Regions from separate parts of the Homo sapiens genome. Here regions 2 and 3 are each linked to region 1. Evidence: promoter capture Hi-C in 16 types of primary human blood cells and fetal thymus (Javierre and others, 2016). All regions are on one chromosome and are shown on one strand. Each heading gives the region's core, a stretch centred on a gene start or on the middle of the fragment in contact. The rest is flanking DNA. Distances are from core to core; before and after follow the strand shown. Region 1 holds the start of DPRX (divergent-paired related homeobox). Region 2 overlaps ZIM3 (zinc finger imprinted 3). Region 3 has its middle 140 kb from the start of MIMT1.

Region 1 (4,914 bases), core at 1,146-3,645:
TTACAGGCTCTTTTTAAATTGGTTTCTGACACTATCACAAGATAAAAATGTGGTTTAAAATTGTTGCTTGGTATGTCTTATTCACCTCTAAAGATATACTGTTCATCAGGCCGGGTGCAGTGGCTCACACCTGTAATCCCAGCACTTTGGGAGGCTGAGGCGGGAGGATGGCTTGAACCCAGGAGTTCTAGGCTGTAATGTGCTCTGCCAATTGGGCATCCACACTAAGTTCGGCATCAATATGGTGACCTCCCACCAGGTTGCCTAAGAAGTGGGGAAATGGTCTAGGTTGAAAATGGAGCAGGTCAAAATTTTCATGCTGGCTGGGCACAGTGGCTCACACATGTAATCCCAGCACTTTGGGAGGCCAAGGCAGATGGATCACCTGAGGTCAGGAGTTTGAGACCAGTCTGGCCAACATGGTGAAACCCTGTCTCTACTAAAAATACAAAAAAAAAAATTAGCTGGGCATGGTGGCATGTGCCTATAATCCCAGCTATTTGGGAGGCTGAGGCAGGAGAGTTGCTTGAACCCAGGAGGCAGAGGTTGCAGTGAGCCGGGATCACGCCACTGCACTCTAACCTGGGCGACAGAGTGAGACTCCATCTCAAAAAAAAAAAAAAAAACTTTCATGCTGATCAGTAGTGGAATCAGCTTGTGAATTGCCCTCCAGCCTGAGCAACACAGACTGCCTCTTACTAATCCCAGCACTTTGGGAGGCTGAGGTGGGAGGATGGCTTGTGCCTAAGACTTTGAGACTAGCCTAGCCAAAATCCCTTCTCTACAAAAAATGCAAAAATTAGCTGGGTATGGTAGTGTGCACCTGTAGTCCCAGTTACTCAGGAGGCTTAGGTGAGAGGCTCACCTAGGCCCAGGAGGTTAAGGCTGCATTGAGCTATGATTTTGCCACTGCACTCCAGGCTGGGCCTAGGCCTTTGTAGTCACAGCTACTTGGGGGCAAATGTAGGAGGATCACTTGAGCCCAGTAGGTCGAGGCTGCAGTCAGCTGTGTTTTTTGAGACATAGCAAGACCCTGTCTCAAAAAGAAAAAAAAAAGTAGCTACAAGCTCATTTATGCAAAGGCTAACCACTGTCACAAGTAGAGATGTGCAGAACTGAGATTCAAATGGATGGAATGGCAAGAAAAACTGCCACTTCTGTGAACCTGAAGTCAAACTGCCCTTGTCGTCAAGATAAAAGGTATACATGGTGTGAGCCTGGGCATCTGAAAGGTGTTGCAGCTTTTTCTTTTATTTTTTTGAGATGGAGTCTCACTCCTGTCACCCAGGCTGGAGTGCAGTGGTGCGATCTCAGCTCACTGCAACCTCTGCCTCCTGGGTTCAAGCAATTCTCCTGCCTCAGCCTCCTGAGTAGCTGGGATTACAGGTGCCCACCACCACACCCAGCTAATTTTCGTATTTTTAGTAGAGATGGGGTTTCGCCATGTTGGCCAGGCTGGTCTCGAACTCCTGACCTCAGGTGATCCGCCTGCCTCAGCCTCCCAAAGTGCTGGGATTACAGGTGTGAGCCACCTGTAATTAGCCAGGCTTGGTGGTGGGTGCCTGTAATCCCAGCTACTGGGAAGGCTGAGGCAGGAGAATTGCTTGAACCTGAGAGGCGGAGGTTGCTGTGAGCCGAGATCGTGCCACTGCACTCCAGCCTGGGTGACAGAGTGAGACTCCATCTCTAAATAAATAAATAAATAAATAAAATGAGATGATTTCTGAGTGAGTTAACTAAATCAGGATATGCAGAACAATGCCAAGCATATATTAGCCACTAAAGAATATATAAGTTGCCTGAAAGCCCCTTTAGGGTTTAAACCTGGACTTCATTATTCACAATCACATTCCCGGTCCCCATTACGGAGCCTGGTCACCTGGGTGCTTGTTAGATATGGAAATCATCAGATCCCACCCCAGACCGAGTCAGAAACGTTGAGGGCAGGAGTTCAAGACCAGCCTGGCCAACATGGCGGAAACTCCGTCTCTACTAAAAATACAAAAATTAGTCAGGAGTGGTGGCACAGGCCTGTGATCTCAGCTACTCGGGAGGCTGAGACATGAGAATCCCTTGAACCTGGGAGGCAGAGGCTGCAGTGAGCCAAGATGGTGTCATTGCGCTCCAGCCTGGGTGACAGAGTGGGACTCTGTCTCAAAGAAAAAGAAAAAAAGAAAAGAAATTGCAGCTTCTGCTCAGGAAGTCTGGAGTGGGCCAGGATTCTGCATTTTAACAACTCCCAGGAGTGTTAGTGGGGCTGGTTTGTGGACTCGCCTTTGAGTCGTTGGTCTCCGCTCAATCAATATTAGATAAAATGACAGTATTGGGAGAAATCCAGGGGGCTCTGGAGGACCGAGGGATCATATTGGAGGCAGATAGGGCAGAGAAAGGTGGAGGAGGTGGGAGTCGGGTGTGGCTGTGGAGGAAGCTACTTAAATCCGGATTTGATCTTTGCTAGTTCTTATCCCTGGACCTGAACCCAGGCGCACATCTGGATTAGAAGATGCCAGGCTCAGAGGATCTTCGTAAAGGTAAGCCAGAAAAAATGAGAACCGAAGCAAAGACACGTGAAGAAGTGGAAAGCAGCTGGCGGCGGGAAAAGGCAGAGGGACCAGGCGGCCGAAGCTGGTGCTTCGTCCACGTGGGTGGCAGGGACTTCCCACAGAGGCTGTCATCGTTTTTGTTGTTGTTGTTTTGTTTTGTTTTGTTTGTCTTTTGAGACAGTCTCACTCTGTCGCTCAGGCTGGAGTGCAGTGGCACGATTTCGGCTCACTGCAACCTCCACCTCCCAGGTTCAAGCAATTCTCCTGCCTCAGCCTCCCGAGTAGCTGGGATGACAGGCACACGCCACCACACCTGGCTAATTTTTTTTTTTTTTGTATTTTTAGTAGAGCCGGGGGTTTCACCATATTGACCAGGCTGGTCTCGAACTCCTGACCTTGTGATCCGTCTGGCTCAGCCTCCCAAAGTGCTGGGGTGACAGGCGTGAGCCACTGCACCCGGCCCAAGTTTTGTATCTTTATAGAGATGGGGTTTCACCATGTTAGCTAGGTTGGTCTCAAGCCCCTGACCTCATGTGATTGGCTGGCCTCGGCCTCCCAAAGTGCTGGGATTACAGGCATGAGCCTCGGTGCCCGGCCGCGGCTGTCATCTGACAGCACAGGCAAATGCAGGGAAGCCTGTTTCTGCCTTCAAATCCGAAATCTTCTCCCTCGTAGTTGTGTCCTAATTCTTCCCACCCCGATGCTTGTTCTTGAGCACAGGGGAATCTGATTCCTATGAGGATGATTAGGTCCTAGATAGAATATAGGCTTAGCCAAGCTGGAAATCTCATGTTCATGAGCACTTACTAGACTCTGGAGCTGCTGCCAAACCATTTTCAGGCATGATGCGATTCAGATCTTTTAGAGCGAGGCATGCGGTGGCTCATGCCTGTAATCCCAGCACTTTGGGAGGCCGAGGTGGGCAGATCGCTTCAGCCCAGGAGTTCAAGACCAGCCTGGGCAACAAAACAAGACGTTGTCTCTACAAAAAATACAAAAATTAGCCGGGCATGTCAGTGTTGTGTAGTTCCAGCTACTCGGGAGGCTGAGGTGAGAGGATCGCTTGAGCCTGGGGAGGTTGAGGCTGAAGTGAGCTGTGATCATGCCACTGGGCAACACAGCAGTACACTGTCTCAAGAAAAAGAAAGTAAAAGGTGACATCCGTGACAGCAGTGATGTTATTTTTCTGCTTATTTCCTTGCTATATTCCTAAAAGAATATACTTAATGAACATTGAATAAATGATAAGAATAAAACCATGTCCATCCATTTCACCTTGGATTGAGTTGCCTATTTCTACACAAAGAAAATAGAACCCAAGAGGTAAGGCACAAGCGATCCCTTATTTACGTATTTATTTATTTATTTATTTATTATTTTCTTGAGACAGGGTCTCCCTCTGTCTCAGGCTGGAGTGCAGTGGCATAATCTCGGCTCACCACAGCCTCTGCCTCTGAGGTTCAAGCGATTCTCCTGCCTCAGCCTCCCGAGTAGCTGGGACTACAGGCGTGCACCATCACGCCCAGCTAATTTTTGTACTTTTAGTAGAGACAGGGTTTCACCATGTTAGCCAGAATGGTCTTGATCTCTTGACCTCATGATCCGCCCGCCTTGGCCTCCCAAAGTGCTGGGATTACAGGCATGAGCCACTGTGCCCGGCCAAATTTTTGTGTTTTTAATAGAGATGGGGTTTCACCATGCTGGCCAGGCTGGTCTCAAACTCATGACCTGATATGATCTGCCCGCCCTGGCCTCCCAAAGTGCTGGGATTACAGGCGTGAGCAAGGGATCCCATATTTAAATGATAACAGAAAAAAAGGATGGAGGAACCAAGGGGGAAAGGAACAACCTTTTCCTATGAAAATGACAAATGAGGCTTGGAAAAACAAGGACAAAAGGCAGATCAAGTTGTCCTCCCGCTTCAGCCTCCCACAGTACTGGGACTGCAGCCTGAGGCACGACCCCGGCCAGCAGTGTCTCCATATCTAAGAACCTCAGTCACGGCCGGGCACAGTGGCTCACGCATGTAATCCCAACACTTTGGGAGGCCGAGGCGGGTGGATCACCTGAGGTCAGGAGTTCGAGACCAGCCTAGCCAACATGGTGAAACCCTGTCTCTGCTAGAAATACAAAAATTATCCGGGCATGGTGGCGTGCGCCTGTAATCCCAGCTACTCGGGAGGCTGAGGCAGGAGAATCGCTTGAACTCAGGAGGTGGAGGTTGCAGTGAGCTGAGATTGTGCCACTGCACTCCAGCCTCGGTGACAGAACCTCAGTCACTTGATCATCACGTTGTACCTCAGTGGAAAGGAAAGGAAAGCTCAGGCTTTTGAGAATGGAGTTGTTAGCATTTCCCATTTGTGTCTTTTTC
Region 2 (4,914 bases), core at 1,210-3,709, 3.5 Mb after region 1:
GTCACATTCTACACCTTTCTGCGTAGTCAGCGTTTCCTTATTGATTGATGGGACTTCTCTTGCGAGACTCTCTTTCACATCCTTTGGCTTCCAAATCTGCCCTCCAATGTCCCCATTTTTTTCTAAAATGGAATACAAAAAAATGTCCTGTGTAAAACGTTCCACTCACATGCTTGAAATAAAATGCCATAAACAATCTATTGTGGTGATTATTCTGGCTTCAAACCTAATGTCTACGAGAAACCAAAGTTAATATAAGCTCTGTTAGAGTTCTATGTGAGCTAATGTTACATGAAGCTATCACATATCTGTCTGTAAAGGACTGAGCAACGTAGACCTAGTGCACAGGGAGCAGGTGAGAGCCTAGGGATACCAGGGAGAGGGAGATTAAGAAAGAGAGTTTGCCAGGCCAGGCACAGGGGCTCACACCTGTAATCCTAGCACTTTGGGAGGCTGAGGCGGGTGGATTGCCTGAGGTCGGGGGTTCAAGACCAGCCTGACCAACATGGCGAAACCCTGTCTCTACTAAAAATACAAAAAATTCGCCGGGCATGGTGGCAAGTGCCTGTAATCCCAGCTACTCGGGAGGCTGAGGCAGGAGAATCGTTCGAACTCGGGAGGCGGAGGTTGCAGTGAGCCCAGATCGCGCCACTGCACTCCAGCCTGGGCGACAGAGACTCCGTTTCCAGAAAAAAAAAAAAAAGAAAAAAAAAAGAGTTTGCCTGCAAAGGAAAACCCAGATAAGAATGTAAAGAAATTTCTGAGTGGAGAAAAATACCTGGAGATTTCTTCCAGCACTCCCAGGAAGTCACAGCTGGCTGCCAAACGACTTCCTCATTTAGAAAAGCTGAATTGGCTTCCATGCACCATTGACCCACAGTGCTCTCCTGGTCACCTACCTGCACGGCCACTTCCCAGCACTTCCTCTTCCTCCAACCATGGCTCCTTTCCTTGTTCCAACCTCAAGATCACATCGGGTTTGGTGGTTTCCCCTTGTCCTGTGATGGAAGATACCGCAAGGCTTGGTGTTTGTGGATGTGTGAGTTGTTTGTGCAAGTGTATGAGTGTATATAAGCGCTTGCGTATGCTTGTGTGAATATTTGTGTGTGAGTGTGAGCATTTATATGTCAGTGTGTGGGTATGTGCCATTGGTTGGGGGGAGTTGTGTGGATGGATGGTTTGAGGGAATGCACCTGAGCAGTCGAACTAAACAAAGAATGCTTTTTCTGGGCTGGGTGTGGCGGCTCATGCCTGTAATCCCAGCACTTTGGGAGGCCGAGATAGGAGAATTGCTAGAGCACAGGAATTTGAGACCAACATGTTACATGTAACATGAAGATAGCAAGACCCAGTCTCTACAAAACCAAAGCCACGTGTGGTGGTGCACGTCTGTGGTCCCAGCTATTCAGGAGGCTGAGGTGGGAGGATGGCTTGAGCCCAGGTCAATGTTGCAGTGACGCCAGGCGTGGTGGTTCATGCCTGTAATACCAGAACTTTGGGAGGCTGAGGCGGGCCGGTTATCTGAGGTCAGGAGTTCAAGACTAGCCTCACCAACATGGAGAAACCCCATCTGTGCAAAAAATACAAAAATTAGCCAGGCATGGTGGTGCACGTCTGTAATCCCAGCTACTCGGGAGGCTAAGGCAGGAAAATCACTGGAACCTGGGAGGCGGAGGTTGCAGTGAGCCGAGATCACACCACTGCACTCCAGCCTGGGTGACAGAGCGAGACTGTCTCCAAAAAAAAAAAATACTACAGTGAGCTATGATTGCACCACTGCACTCCAGCCTCGGTGACACAGCCAGACCCTGTTAGGAGAAAGGAGATAAAGAAAGAGAGAGGAATGGAGAGAGGGAGGGAGGGAGAAAGGAAGGAAGGAAGGAAGGAAGGAAGGAAAGAAGGAAGGAAGGAAGGAAAGAAGGAAGGAAAGAAGGAAGGAAGGAAGGAAAGAAGGAAGGAAGGAAGGAAGGAAGGAAAGAAGGAAGGAAGGAAGGAAAGAAGGAAGGAAAGAAGGAAGGAAGGAAGGAAAGAAGGAAGGAAGGAAGGAAAGAAGGAAGGAAAGAAGGAAGGAAGGAAGGAAAGAAGGAAGGAAGGAAGGAAGGAAAGAAGGGAGGTAGGAAGGGAGGAAGGGAAGGAGGCAGGGAGGGAGGGAGGGAGGGAGGGAGGGAAGGAAGGGAAAGAAAGAAATGCTTTTTCTTCTTGGAGGATAAAGCTTTTCCAAAAATCAAGACCAGGAGTAGGGTGAAGGGCAGGGCACCCAGCCCACAAAACTTACAGAGGCCCTCACTCATTCTCCCGGCACTTGCCGACCCTGAGAATGGGGGCTCCTTCAATACAGCACTTGGTACACTTCACTTGCCTCACCCTAGTCCCGGCTCTACAAAAACATATGCGAAGTGAGGAGCACCTCTGTGCCAACCCTATTTGGCCAGCCATGGGGTGTCTGTGTGTTTCACGCCTTAGGTTTTGAGTCCCCCTGCCCGGGAAGCCGTCCTTACCCACAGAGACAAGGTTGCTGTAATTCTCCAGCATCACATCCCTGTACAAGTTTCTCTGTTCGGGATTCAGCCGCTGCCACTCCCCCTGGGTGAAGTTCACAGTGACATCCTCGAAGGTCACTCTTCCCTGTAACAACAGATTCCCGATCAGTATAAAAATGCCATTGAATCCTGCGGCTGAGGATACAGAAACTTGTTTCTGCTGAACCAAGCTTTAATCATGTCCATAATTCACTCTACTCTGGATGAAAATAAATTGTGCCCAGAGGATCTTGCCAATGAGCCATAAACCTTAGACCTACTCATGACACTGCCATCTTTCTCCACCCTCTAGTCCCACCAATTTTACTTCCTGAATCTCAAACCCAGCCATTAGTTTCCATCTTCTCCACCATTCATAAATCCACCTTGTCATCTTTTACTTAGAGTAAGGCAGAGGCCGAGTATGGTGGCTCACACCTATCATCCCAACATTTTGGGAGGCCGAGGCAGGAGGATTGCTTGAGGCCAGGAGTTTGAGGCTAGCTGGGGAACATAGCAAAACCCCTATCTCAAAGAACATTTTATTATTTTGGCCGGGCACGGTGGCTCACACCTGTAATCCCTGCACTTTGGGAGGCCGAGGCGGGTGGATCACCTGAGGTCAGGAGTTCGAGACCAGTCTGGCCAACATGAAGAAACCCCATCTCTACTAAAAATACAAAAAATTAGCCAGGCATGGTGGCAGGCGCCTGTAATCCCAGCTACTCAGGAGGCTGAGGCAGGAGAATCACTTGAACCCAGGAGGTGGAGGCTGCAGTGAGCCAAGATTGCGCCACTGCACTCCAGCCAGGGCAACAAGAGCAAAACTCTGTCTCAAGAAAAAAAAGAAAAAGAAAAAGAAAAGAAAAGAAAATGTTATTATATTTTTTTTCTATTTTCCATTTTTCTTTAAGACATCCTGCCTCTATTAGAAATTCTTTTTTAAATAGAGGCCTGGCATGGTGGCTCACACCTATAATCCCAGCACTTCAGGAGGCTGAGACAGGTGGATCACCCGGGGTCAGGAGTTCGAGACCAGCCTCGTCAACATGGTGAAACCCCATCTCTACTAAAAATACAAAAATTAGCCAGGTGTCGTGGTGCGCGCCTGTAATCCCAGCTACTCAGGAGGCTGAGGCAGGAGAATCGCTTGAACCCTGGGAGGTGGAGGTTGCAGTGAGCTGAGATCACACCACTGCACTCCAGCCTGGGTGACAGTGAGACTCCATCTCAAATAAATAAATACATAAATAAGTAGAATAAGCCAATAGCCCCCTAATTCTTCCAGCTACATCTAAACTGACTGTAATCTATTTTCCACAGTCGACATTCAGACTGGATGGTGCGCTCCCCTAATTTATCAGCTTTCCTTGCATTTGGGAGAAACAGGTGACACCTGTTACAGGGGCCAGCGTCTGGCATGTCTACCACACTCCCACTCACACAGGGTCACACAGCACTCCCCTGGGTCTCTCCTGCAGCCATACTGGACTTACGGCAGCATTTTGCCCCTGCCACTCAACACTCACAGTGTTGGAAGTCACACTTGTAAAGCGAATTCCTTTGTCAGAAACTGAAAATCTCACCTCTAAGAGCCAGCACCTAGTGTCCTCTTGGACAGATAAATTTTTTAGTTGTGTTTGTGCTCTAGCTCGCTTTTTTAAAATTTTGTTTATTTATTAATTTTTTTTGGCGGGGAAGGGGACAGAGGCTCACTCTGGTAGCCCAGGCTGGAGTGCAGTGGCACAATCTCGGCTCACTGCAACCTCCACCTCCTGGGTTCAAGCGATTCTCCTGCCTCAGCCTCCTGAGCAGCTGGGATTACAGGCGCGCACCACGACACCTGGCTAATTTTTGTACTTTTAGTAGAGACGGGTTTCACCATGTTGGCCAGGTTGGTCTCAAACTCCTGACCTCAAGTGATCTGCCCGCATCGGCCTCCCGAAGAGCTGGGATTAAAGGGATGAGCCACCGCACCCGGCCTTTTTTTTTAAATTTTTGACACAGGTTCTTGCTCTGCCACCCAGGCTGGAGTACAGTGGCATGATCATGGCTCACTGCAGCCTCAACCTCCCAGGATCAAGCAATCCTCCTACCTCAGCCTCCAGAATAGCTGGGACTACAGGCATGCACCACCATGCTAAGCTCATTTTTTATTATTTGTAGACAGGGTCTCACTATATTGTCCAGGCTGGTCTTGAACTCCTGGCCTCAAGTGGTCTTCCTGCCTTCGCCTCCCAAAGTGCTGGGATTACAGGTGTGAGCCACCACACCCAGCCTTAGTATGCCTTTCCTGTCAACAGGAAATTGGTCAACAGGCTTAATTTTAACAATTGCAAAGAAACTACTATCTGCCTAACTGCATACAACTTATCCTTGGTCTTTCAGCTATCCA
Region 3 (4,914 bases), core at 918-3,417, 3.3 Mb after region 1:
ATTTTCATGCAGTATTTGAAAAAAAAATTCATGTACAAAAAAACGTGATAAACAAAATATTAAAAATTTAAATAAAGACAGGACCCTATGAGACTGTGCTGAGCTACATCAGACCCTCAGGCAAAAGGAAAAGTGCGTATGACCCTAAGCATGTTGCTACTGTTTTTTTTTTTTTCTTTGAGACGAAGTCTCTGTTGCCAGGCTAGAGTGCGGTGGCACAATCTCAGCTCACTGCAACCTGCAACTCCCTGGTTCAAGCGATTCTCCTGCCTCAGCCTCCCGGTTATGTATTTTTTAATGGTTATTTTCCAGAAATAGATTTTGAAAATATTATTGATGAGTCTGCTTCCACTGAGGCCGGGAAAATAAAATTATAATAAATTCTATTTTTAACACATAAAATTAACATAAGACATTGCGAGTTTAATATAGCTATTTTTCCTTTTTTCAACATTTTTAAAACTAATATTCTGTGGGGGTGGGGAGTGAACCATTAAATAATTACAAGCTGCGTGAGAGAGCTCACACCTGTAATACCAGCATGTTGGAAGGCTGAGGCGGGTGGATTACTTGAGACCAGGAGTTCAAGACCAGACTAGGCAAGATAGAAAGACTCTATCTCTACAGAAAATTTTTAAAAAGTCAGAAATGGTGTTGCATATCTCTAGTCCCAGCTACTTTGGAAGCTGAAATGGGAGGCTTGCTTGAGGCCAGGAGGTCGAGGCTGAAGCAATCTTCAAGAACAAATATTTGCTCAGGGACTTCTCTGGGCTGTGTGGCCACTAGGTCAAGAGTGGGCTGTGGACATGATAGGAGGCTACGATTAGGGTAATAGCCAAGGACAGAGGCAGGAATGGATGAATTTTGGATGGTAATACTATTCACCGAGTCACCACTGCACTCCAGCTTGGGCAACAGAGCGAAACCCAGTCTCTACCAAAAAAAAAAAAAAAAAAAATTGCACAATCACACGGATATAGGGAATCACACTTTTTTTTTTGGCCTCGGGCTTCAGTACAGCTCAGCACACATTGGGTTTGATTTAAATTTTGAGTATTTGTTCATCCATTATGGGGGGTTGCTTTCTGCGTTCATTTTGGTTTTCAAAACCATTGTGTTAAATATTATTTATCTTAAATAAAATTAACCATACTCACCATGTGGTATAATCCCCGGAACGTATTCCTCCTTCATGACTGAAATTTTGTGTCTTTGGACCAACATCTCCCGTCCCTGAACCCCTCAGCTTTCTGGATGACTGTGCACCTCCGTAAGCCTCTTCCTAATCCCCAGGTCTGCCTTTGAGGATATGACCTTTGAGCTGAAACGTGAAAATTGGGAAAGAAACAGCCATGGGGACTGTGGGGAAAGGAAATTCCAATTAGAGGAAAGGCAAGAGTGAAGGTCTTGGGGCAGGAAGCTTTTTCAGGGACAGTGAGGACAGCATGGCCAGGGGGTGGTGGGTAAGGAAAGCAGCAGACAAGAGCCAGGTTGCCACCGACCTTGTGGGCCAACCACGGGTAGCTTTCCTTTTAATCCAAGTGTTCTAGAGCCACCGATCTAGGCTCAGTTGGCATGGAAGGTGGGTGAGAGAATGACATTATCTGACTCATTTGCAGAAGGTCTGCAGCTTGATTTTTTTGGAGGATAGACTTATCATGGGGACAGGAGTGACCCTCATCATCAAGATGTGATAGTTATCTAGGGAGAGGTGTTGGTACCTGGACGAAGGTGAACAGAAGTGGATTGAATCTCATTACGTCATGAGAGTGAGAAGCACAGAGGATGACAGAGGATGATGTCTACGTTTCGAGTTTGGGCTCTTGCAGACTGGGTAGTGCCTTTTATAGAGACTGGGGAGACTTGGGGGTGAGGAGTAGAATTTTGAGGGGGACTGACAATTTTGATGTGAACGCGTTGGCTGAAGATGCCAATTTGACATCCATGAAGAGGACCTGTCCCGAAGCCTCACATTGCTAAACCCCAGAAAATATCAGTTTTGCCAGCCCAATAGATAACATCAGGGGATTCTATTTTTTGCATGTTTTCTCCTCAAGAGTCCAAGGATAACCCACTGAGTCCGCTCCTGATCTGAACCTCTAAGGTATTGCCAGGCCTGGTGTCCTAAACATCAGCCCATGAGGAAATCAGCCCTGGGCCCTGTACCACCAACACAACATCATGTCCTGTATCCCCAAAACATGCAAAAGTCTCATGAACATGCACATCCTCTGTGCTTCCCTCCCCTGAACCACCCTCATCCTCCTTTCTAGGTCCTTACTGCCACGCACGCGTGCAGTCTCATGAAAAAGGGGAATACTGTGACCGCCCCTGTTTCCAAACGGATATTGGGCCTCTTTTCAAGCGTACGTTTTCAGTTTACACTTTCAGAGTTTGTTGATTTGTGAGTTCAAGGCCCTCTCTGCCCTGCGGAGAGCACGGAAATTCCTGGAACTGGGGGCGTGTGTGAAGGGGACGTTGTCAACGCTAGGACAGAGAAGAAAGCCGCTCATTTTGATGTGTCAGAGCGGTGGGGGGTGGGGCTTCCAGCCCCTGGCATCTCAGCCCTATCCTTCCTTCCTGCACTGTGCTTCTCACAAACAGCAGGGGCTTGTGTTACTTTGAGTCGATAGCCTCATTCACGACACTCTCACAGAATAGTGCCCGTCTGTGCTCAGCACATGCCCGTAAAACAGGATTCCCCAAACACGTCCATAGGTAACTGTAAATCATTTAGAAGAATCTAAAGTGTGAATTTTGTAAACTGAAGCTACGTGCATGTATACACGTGTGTGTTTGTGTATATCATATATACACATTAATGTTATTATTATTATTTGCAATACCCAGCATCGCATAATAGGTGGGATAATGCAGATGCCACTCCAAGCCAAATCTCCTGGCCCCACCGGTCATAAGCTTACCTCTGTAGGGAAGAAAAGGTTTCTTTTTGGCAGTGGTTTGTTGTTTGTTTGTTTGTTTTGAGACAGGGTCTTATTCTGCGGCACTGGTTGGAATGCAGTGGTGCGGTCACTGAAGCCTCGACCTCCTGGGCTCAAGTGATCCTCCCACCTCAGCCTCCCAAGTAGCTGGGGCTACAGATACGCACCACAACGCCCAGTTAATTTTTGTATTTTTTGTACAGATGGGGTTTTGCCATATTGCCTAGGCTGATCTGTAACTCCTGAGCTCAAGCGATCTGCCTACCTCAGCCTCCCAAAGTGCTGGGATTGCAGGCATGGGCCAGTGTGCCTGGCCTCTTTTTCCTCACCAATTGCTAGGTTCATGACTGAGGCCCCTGTAACACAAGACAGATCAACCAAAAAAAAAAATCATACAGATTTATTTAGTATAAGTTTTATGTGACACGGGAGCCTTCCACAAGGAAATAAAGACCCAAAGAAACAGAAAAACGTGTATATTTGATGCTGGTCTGATGAAGAAGTGGATGGCTGTGGAGAAGTATTTGACAGAGGCAGTGTGCTCTCATGCTACAAGAGTGAGAGAGTGAGGGGAGCTTTTCAAGGCCTGTTTGTTCAGATTCAGTGTCTTCAGAGATAAGGATGCTCCTCTCCTACGGGTACAGAGAGGGCACGCTGGAATGACAGTCTTACAATTGCTTCAGAGAGAAGGACGAGGAAAGCTGAGACAGGCATTTCTGCTCATGCTGTTTTCTCAAATGCCAACGTGCCATATTTCAGGGTACCATGTCCCGAGCCCCACCATCTCCTAGGTAGGAATTCAGGATTTTGGTGTTTGTCCTACTAGTAATGGGAACCCAACAGGAAGGGAATTCCAAGTGTGAGAATTCCAGCCAAAGCCCAGGGTATTCCAGGGACCCCTCAGTAAGCTGTTGCAACACTCGGAGCCAGGAGATGCTGGTGGCCGGTAGGGGGTGGTGGCCAGGACCTTAGATGGATGGGCCACCCTCAGGGGAGGTTCTGTGGTACAGGGTGGTGGCCAGGACCTCAGATGGATGGGCCACCCTCGGGGGAGGTTCTGTGGTACGGGGTGGTGGCCAGGACCTCAGATGGATGGGTCACCCTCAGGGGAGGTTCTGTGGTACGGGGTGGTGGCCAGGACCTCAGATGGATGGGCCACCCTCGGGGGAGGTTCTGTGGTACGGGGTGGTGCCCAGGACCTCCGATGGATGGGCCACCCTCAGGGGAGGTTCTGTGGTACAGGGTGGTGGCCAGGACCTCACATGGATGGGCCACCCTCAGGGGCGGTTCTGTAGGCCACCTCGCGGGACTCCATGACAGACGTTAAGCATGGAGCCTGGAGAGGAGGACCCCAGGTGGAGGCCCTGGTCCCGCCTTTACGAATGGGTAGAAAGGGCTTCCGTCTACTGAGACAGGGGTCTTGCTCAATCTCACTCACATGGATGCTCCAGGAAGAAGGAGCCCACTCTTCCCACAAAGAAAAGAAAGATGGCTGGGGGTGATGGCTCACGCCTGTAATCCCAGCACTTAGGGAGGCCGAGGCGGGAGGATCACCTGAGGTCAGGAGTTTGAGACCAGTCTGGGCAACATGGTGAAACCCCATCTCTACTAAAAATACAAAAATTAGCCAGGCATGGTGGCGGGGGCCTGTAATTCTCCTGTCTCAGCCTCTCAAGTAGCTGGGATTACACGTGCCCACCACCACAGCCTGGCTAATTTTTGTCTTTTTAGTAGAGACAGGGTTTCACCAGGTTGGCCAGGCTGCTCTCAAACTCCTGACCTCAGGTGATTCACCCGACTCGGCCTCCAAAAGTGCTGGGATTACGGGTGTGAGCCACCGTGCCTGGCCTAAAATACATTTTATAGCCTATAAGAGTGTCTCATTTCAAGCACAGACCACAGGCCTGGTATACAGTAGGTGCTTACTACAGCCTTGTCGATCTGAATTCTATCAGCTCTTCTCAACAGTTCT

Evidence for each region. Contacts are between HindIII fragments. The CHiCAGO score rates a contact against its expected background, and 5 or more counts as called.
Region 2: a fragment that was not itself captured here is called in contact with the fragment with the promoter of DPRX in region 1 in 2 of 17 cell types (total B cells and non-activated CD4 T cells); the score reaches 6.4 in total B cells.
Region 3: a fragment that was not itself captured here is called in contact with the fragment with the promoter of DPRX in region 1 in 1 of 17 cell types (naive B cells); the score reaches 7.8 in naive B cells.

What each region holds. Positions count from the first base shown.
Region 1 is chr19:53,629,604-53,634,517 of GRCh38, forward strand. DPRX (divergent-paired related homeobox) reads left to right here and starts at 2,396. Exons shown (of 3, transcript NM_001012728.2): 1 at 2,396-2,531. The coding sequence starts at 2,504. It also overlaps the pseudogene RN7SL317P. The HindIII fragment of the contact is 17,175 bases long and covers 1-4,914 here.
Region 2 is chr19:57,135,974-57,140,887 of GRCh38, forward strand. It overlaps ZIM3 (zinc finger imprinted 3), which reads right to left. Exons shown (of 5, transcript NM_052882.1): 3 at 2,499-2,625; 4 at 900-998; 5 at 1-122. Among named protein-coding and RNA genes, the nearest start is that of ZIM3, 6.8 kb to the right of the region's middle. The HindIII fragment of the contact is 498 bases long and covers 2,211-2,708 here.
Region 3 is chr19:56,975,786-56,980,699 of GRCh38, forward strand. No RefSeq gene overlaps it. Among named protein-coding and RNA genes, the nearest start is that of MIMT1, 140 kb to the left of the region's middle. The HindIII fragment of the contact is 1,499 bases long and covers 1,419-2,917 here.